2 separate regions of the Homo sapiens genome follow, and region 1 is linked to region 2. The links are contacts of gene promoters, found by promoter capture Hi-C in blood cells and fetal thymus (Javierre and others, 2016). All regions are on one chromosome and are shown on one strand. Each heading gives the region's core, a stretch centred on a gene start or on the middle of the fragment in contact. The rest is flanking DNA. Distances are from core to core; before and after follow the strand shown.

Region 1 (3,974 bases), core at 803-3,302, 210 kb after region 2:
TGTAATCCCAGCACTTTGAAAGGCCGGGGCGGATGGATCGCCTGATGTCAGGAGTTTTGAGACCAGTCTGGCCAACATGGTGAAATCCCGTCTCTACTGAAAATACAAAAATTAGCTGGATGTGGTGGTGGACACCTTTAATCCCAGCTACCTGGGAGGCTGAGGCAAGAGAATTGCCAGAACCCGGGAGGCGGAGACTGCAGTGAGCTGAGATCACGCCATTGCAGTCCAGCCTGGGTGACAAGAGCGAAACTCTGTTAAAAAAAAAAAAAATGACAATTGAGTACATGAGGGAGGCGAGGGTTGAACCATATAGCAATTCGGGGGGGGGGGAAACTTTAAAGCAAAGGGAACAGCAAGTCAGAGGCCCTGGGAGGACTAACTGGCGTGTTCAGAGGACTGGTGAGGAGGGCAGTATGGCTGGAGTGGGGAGGAGGAGCGTTGACTGGGAACCCCCTCACCTAGGGCCTTTTGGTTTTTGGTTTTCCCTTTCAGTGAGAAGTGCAGTGGAGAGAAGGAATCGCAGACCAGTTAGGCCACTGCAGTGACGCAGGCGAGATAGGATGGTGGCTTGGACCAGGATGGAAGTAGTGAGGTCATGGAAGTTTCTGGCCTGAGCAATTAGAAGGGTGAGGAACCATTTGCTGAGATGGAGAGGACTGGGGGAGGAGCAGGTTCAGGGTGGAGATGAGAACCCTGTGTGTGCCTGTGTGTGCCATGTGAGATGCCTCCGAGACAGCCCAGAAGTGTCAGGCAGGCAGCTGGATGTAGGCACTGAGGTCCAGTGTGTGGGAGGTGCACATTTGGGTGTTATCAGGATAGAGATGGTATTTGAAGCTGTGATCCTGGATGAGGTCACCCAGGGATGAGCGTGGCCAGAGAAGAGAACCCGGTTGTACCAGGATGAAGTCAGGTGAGGAGCAGAACCAGGTGAGGGTGTGTCCCAGTGCCAAGGGCAGCGCATGTGCTGGGGAGGAGGGTGAGCCACTCCATCAGGTGCTGAGTGGGGAACAGAAGATGACTGAGCGCTGTCCCAGCACTAGAGGGCCACAGGGAGGTCTTTGGGGACTGACCTTGGTAAGGACAGTTTTGGCCACAGCAGCAGCAAAAGCCTGATGGGAGTGTGTTCTTGAAAGAGCAAGAAGGCAGAAATGGGGGTGAGCACAAACAACTATTTTGAGATTTCCTGTAAAAGGAAAGATATAAATGAATAACTAGATGGGGCAGAGAGATCAAGGGCTTTGTTTGCTCTTTTTTTTTTTTTAATCAGACGGGGTCTCGCTGAGTCGCCCAGGCTGGAGTACAGTGGTGTGATCTCGGCTCATTGCAACCTCTGCCTGCCGGGTTCAAGCAATTCTCCTGTCTCAGCCTCCCGAGTAGCTGGGACTATAGGGGCCCGCCACCACGCCTGGCTGATTTTTGTAGTTTTAGTAGAGATGGGGTTTCACCTTGTTGGTCAGGCTGGTTTCGAACTCCTGACCTCAGATGATCCACCCACCTTGGCCTCCCAAAGTGCTGGGATTACAGGTGTGAGCCACCGCGCCCGGCCTATTTGCTCTTTTTAAGGTGGGAGAAAGAACGGCAAGCTCATCAGCCAGTGGGAATGATCAAGAGGGGAAGGAAACATGGATGATGGCTTGGGGGCAGGGGGTCATCAGCGGCTAGGTTCCAGGGGCTAAGGCTGGGCCTCAGGGGAAATGCCCTCCTCACCCCTCTCCTGGGCCTAGGTCATTTGCCCCAGCTCCGATGAGCAGGGAAAGGTGGTCGAGTCCAGGACCCGCCCACCCCACCATGCCCAACTGAGCTGCAGTGTTGGGAAGATAGAGGAGGGTGGTTCCTTCCACAGGTAAGCACACCCATTAATTTGCACTGTGCAGTAGCAGGTCTGGAATATTCCAGAAACAAATGAGGGTGGCTGCCTCCAGATATTTGTTCTTACCTTAGTTCTTCAAAAAGCTTGCTCCTTGTATTTTGGGTCTCAGCTCCAGACACCTCAGAGAGGCCTTCCCCGGCACCTGAGCTGAAAGAGCCTCCTCCGATGGCCCTCTTGGAAAGCCTCTCTGTTGTGTTGATGGCGCTAGCCGGGATCTGGCAGGGCCTTCTTTTCTCATTTGTTTGTACTTTATTGACTGTCTTCCCGCTAGAGTGTAAGCTTCCTAAGGGCAGGGCTTTGTCCTCTAGCACCCAGAAGAGGGTCTGGCACATAGTAGGTGTTCAACAAATTAAGGAGCCTTTGGTCAGTAGAGATGATATTTATAATTTGATACTTTCATATTTATTGTGGGCCGATTATGGTCAGGCATGTGCTCAACTCAGTTTGATACATGGTGGGAAATAATGAGTCCCCTAAGGGGCTCTGCAACAATGTCACCACCTGGCAGAGAACAGGGACTTCTCCTTAACCTGCTGCGCCCCAGTGGCCTGGACAATGCTGGAAAGACAACCATCCTGAAGAAGTTCAATGGGGAGGACATCGACACCATCTCCCCAACGCTGGGCTTCAACATCAAGACCCTGGAGCACCGAGGGTGAGCAGGGGCCCCATGGGAGGGCCAGCCCAGAGCAGGGCAGGGAAGGTGGGAGAGGGGCCCAGCTGACCCTCCTGTCACCCGCTCCTTGCCCAGATTCAAGCTGAACATCTGGGATGTGGGTGGCCAGAAGTCCCTGCGGTCCTACTGGCGGAACTACTTTGAGAGCACCGATGGCCTCATCTGGGTAGTGGACAGCGCAGACCGCCAGCGCATGCAGGACTGCCAGCGGGAGCTCCAGAGCCTGCTGGTGGAGGAGGTGGGCAGCTCCTACCCTTTGTGTACATGTATGGACGTGTGGCTGCCTTCTCAGCAGATGCCCAGAGGGGCCCGTGGCCCCAGAGGGAAACCAGAGGCAGGATCCCTTCCTTCTCTGGGCCCCCACCATGGGAGGCCCATGGTGCCAGAGGCAGGACACATGCTGTGGACTGAGATTGAGTTAACGTCCCTGTGGTGTTACTACGTCACTACCCTGAGCATCAGTTTCTATGCCTTGAAATGGTGATGATGACACCCACATCACTGGGCTTTAGGGAGGATAACCCAAGGCCAGTATGAAGCTTCGAGAGGCCATGGAGCCTGGCTCAAGAGTCTGACTCTTTGCTGTGTGACCTCAGCTGGGGGTGGTGGCACGCACCTATAGTCCTAGCTACTCTGGAGGCTCAGACAGGAGGATCAGTTGAGCCCAGGAGGTTGAGGCTGCAGTGAGCTGTGATCGTGCCACTGCACTCCAGCCTCCTGGGCGACAGAGCAAGACCCTGTCTCAAAAAAAAAAAAAAAGGAAGGGGCCAGGTGCGGTGGCTCACGCCTGTAATCCCAGCACTTTGGGAGGCTGAAGCGGGCGGATCACGAGGTCAGGAGATCGAGACCGTCCTGGCTAACATGGTGAAACCCCGTGTCTACTAAAAATACAAAAAATTAGCCAGGCATGGTGGCGGGCGCCTGTAGTCCCAGCTACTCAGGAGGCTGAGGCAGGAAAATGGCGTGAACCTGGGAGGCGGAGCTTGCAGTGAGCCGAGATTGTGCCACTGCACTCCAGCCTGGGCAACAGAGTGAGACTCCGTCTCAAAAAAAAAAAAGAAGGACACTTGCAAAGATAGTACAGAGGTCAGAGGTCCCCCATATACCCTTTACCTTGCTTCCCCATCTTACCTAACCGTGGCCTGTCCAAACTAATAAATCAACACTGGTGAATTACTATTATCTTAATTACAGATTTTATTTGAATTTCACGTTTTTCCACTAATATACTTTTTGTGTTCCAATGTTTGATTCAGGCTACAAAATTGCATTTAGTTGAAAATGAGGACACTTGTGAGAGTGAAAGGGGGGATTCTGCAGGCAGAGTGGGGACTGTCCTGGGCACACCGCACACATCTCCTATGTGGGTGGAGCAGGTCAGATGAGATCAGGGCCGTCAAATGCTGGTCAAGGCAGGTCAAGGCC
Region 2 (2,500 bases), core at 1-2,500:
GCCCCACCCGAGGCACTCCACCCGCCTCCCTGCTGGTCATCTGGGCTCCTGGCCCACAGCTTCTGGAGACCAGAGGTGTGGGCACCTCACAGGCCCAGCTACCTTCAGTGCCTCTCGGCAGACGTAGGCAATCTGCCGCTCCTCCAGGGGCCCAGTGGCTGAAAGGAAAAGGGAGAGGCTGGCTTGGGGGCCCGGGGGTCATGCCCACCCTCCCAGGCTACCGTGTGTGGGAAAAGCAGCAGGCACTGTTAAATGAAAGCGGTGTTGGCCACGTCCCCTCCCAGTTTAGTCTAGGATACTGAACCCAGAGATGGACAGTATTTCTCTCAAGGTCACACAGCCAGGCAGGAGTGGAGAGGAGCCCAAGTCCAGGGCCCAGAGTCCCCTCTGGTACCCCAGTGGGGTAGGGGTGGGGGAAGGCTGGGGCCTGCTGGGGCCTGGAGCCCTGGCCTCACCATGGTAAATCTCCTGCAGGGAGCCCCCTCCGCAGAACTCCATGCAGATCCACAAGCGGTCATTCCTAGGGACAAAGAGCTGGGGTGGGCACAAAGCAGGTCACATGGGGGCTGCCTGGGGCCAGGAGGATAAGGCAGCCTCACCTGAGGTAGCTGCCAATGTAGGCCACCACATTGGGGTGGCGGCACTCACGCAGGATGGTGATTTCCTGCTGGAGGGAGCTGATGTCGTCCCCTGGGAAGCACAAAGCATCATGGGGAAGGCGCGCTGGGGTTGCCCTGACTCAGTGCCCCCATCTGCAAAATGGGCACAGAGTGCCTCCCTCCGGGCCAGGCAGGTGCAGGTGACAGCACCTCCCGGGGCACGCCTCTCAGGGGTCTCGGAAACGTCAACCCTCCGCCCGCACCCCGCGCCCGCGGGCGCTCTGCCCTTCCTCTGGCGCAGAGGCCCGACCCGGGCCCTCACCTGGGTCTAGCTTGACTATCTTCACGGCGGCCAGTTCGGACGTGACCGTGTCGCGGGCCTGCAGGGGCGGAGGGTGAAGCGGGATGGGGGGCGGGGCCGGGGGCTAGATCCTGCCGCGGGGTGCGGGGCTGGCACCCTCCTCCCGGCTCTCCCGCCCGTCCCGTCGCACCTTGTAGACGTCGCCATAGGTCCCGGCCCCCACGCGCTGCAGCAGCTCGAAGCGGTCCCGCGGGTCCTGCAGCGACACATCCCGCAGCAGCGCCATGGCCCGGCGCCGGGCGGGCCGGCAGGCGGGCGGGCGCGAGCTGCGGAGCCGGCGCGGGGCGGCGCGGGGCGGGGCGGGCGCCCGTGGCTCTGAGGCCGCGGGGGCGGGGCTGAGGCCCGGGGGCGGGGCCGCGCCGGGGATGCCCCACCGCCAGTCCGGGAGGAGGCGCCCGCGGGACGGGCCCTCGGCGGCGCGGGGAAGCCCCAAGGCCGGGGCGGAGCCTACGTCCTTCCGCCGCCACTGTCGCTCGCGCTCCACAGGTAGGGAGCGCAAAGTCCCGGGAGCCAGAAGACAGAGGGAAGAGGGGGCGCTCCACTCCCCGCCCCATCCCCAATTTCCCAGATAAACATGGACTTGCGCTTTATATTTTTTTTAACAAAATGTATTCATCTTTCTTGGAACTGAAAAATAAATCTATGTACAAAACAGGAAGAGATCAGGCTCTTGTCACCCACTCCTAACCCTCTGCAGATTTCCTCCGGGATGCTCCGAGATGGGCTGGACCTCTGGGAGGTTCCCAGAGGGTCGGAAGGGAGGTCCTGCTCTGATCCGGGGCCAGTTTCGTCAGGAAGAGGGCGGGGCTCAGGATGCTCATAGGCTGGGGGCGGAGTTTTGTGTCCCAGACTCGGGATACGAAGGAGAGGAAACTAGGATTTCCAAATTCTGGAGCAGGACTGAAGTTATTTGGGGCAGGGAGCTTGGATTCGCAAGATATGGAATTCTGAAGTGCGGAAATATACTCCTAGGGGCTGAGTGGTCCTAGGCTCCCGGGCTGGAGGTGGGACCTGTGCTCCTTGGGTTAAGGGTGAAACCTCAGCTCCTACAAGCTGGGAGGAGCCCTGAGTAACGTTGGTCTGGCTCTAGGTGAGCGGTTCCGAGGAGGAGCTTGGGTTTCTAGGGGCTGGGCCTTTAAAGACTGGTAATTAGGACCCAGCGTGAGGTTTCCATTGGCCGGCTGGGATTCTGGGAGAAGAGACCTATATTCTAACGACTGGGGCAGAGCCCTGGGTTCTGAGCTGGAGAAAATCGTGGGTTTGATACAGACTGTACTCGGGACCGGGAACCTAGGGTTTGGGTAGAGGTGAGGCCTGTCCCCTTTGGGCTGGGGGCAGAACATGGGCTCAGAGTTGGGGGACTAAGGGCGGAGCCTGGGTCCCCACAAGCGGTCCGAAGTCCCCAGTAGTTCAGAGGCCTTTGCGCTGCCGCTTGAGGAAAGACAGAGTGTAGTCACTAGGGGTGGACACTTTCTGCTTCTTCATCTGCACTTGCGACTGTGCCGTGAGTTGCAGCTTGATGGCGCTCGAGTTGATCTTG

The links. The method cuts DNA at HindIII sites, captures the fragments that hold promoters and counts their contacts. A CHiCAGO score of 5 or more calls a contact.
Region 1: a fragment that was not itself captured here is called in contact with the fragment with the promoter of MAP4K2 in region 2 in 6 of 17 cell types (endothelial precursors, total B cells, erythroblasts and 3 more); the score reaches 7.4 in endothelial precursors.

What each region holds. Positions count from the first base shown.
Region 1 is chr11:65,015,947-65,019,920 of GRCh38, forward strand. It overlaps ARL2 (ARF like GTPase 2), which reads left to right. Exons shown (of 5, transcript NM_001667.4): 2 at 2,418-2,528; 3 at 2,625-2,787. ARL2-SNX15 (ARL2-SNX15 readthrough (NMD candidate)) reads left to right here. Exons shown (of 11, transcript NR_037650.2): 2 at 2,418-2,528; 3 at 2,625-2,787. MIR6879 (microRNA 6879) reads left to right here and starts at 2,559; the gene lies at 2,559-2,624. The HindIII fragment of the contact is 196 bases long and covers 1,955-2,150 here.
Region 2 is chr11:64,801,964-64,804,463 of GRCh38, forward strand. It overlaps MAP4K2 (mitogen-activated protein kinase kinase kinase kinase 2), which reads right to left and starts at 1,251. Exons shown (of 32, transcript NM_004579.5): 1 at 1,091-1,251; 2 at 922-979; 3 at 600-690; 4 at 456-520; 5 at 103-158. The coding sequence starts at 1,186. MEN1 (menin 1) reads right to left here. Exons shown (of 10, transcript NM_001370259.2): 10 at 1,553-2,500. The coding sequence ends at 2,371. RefSeq lists silencers at 881-1,060, 1,211-1,390. The HindIII fragment of the contact is 47,852 bases long and covers 1-2,500 here.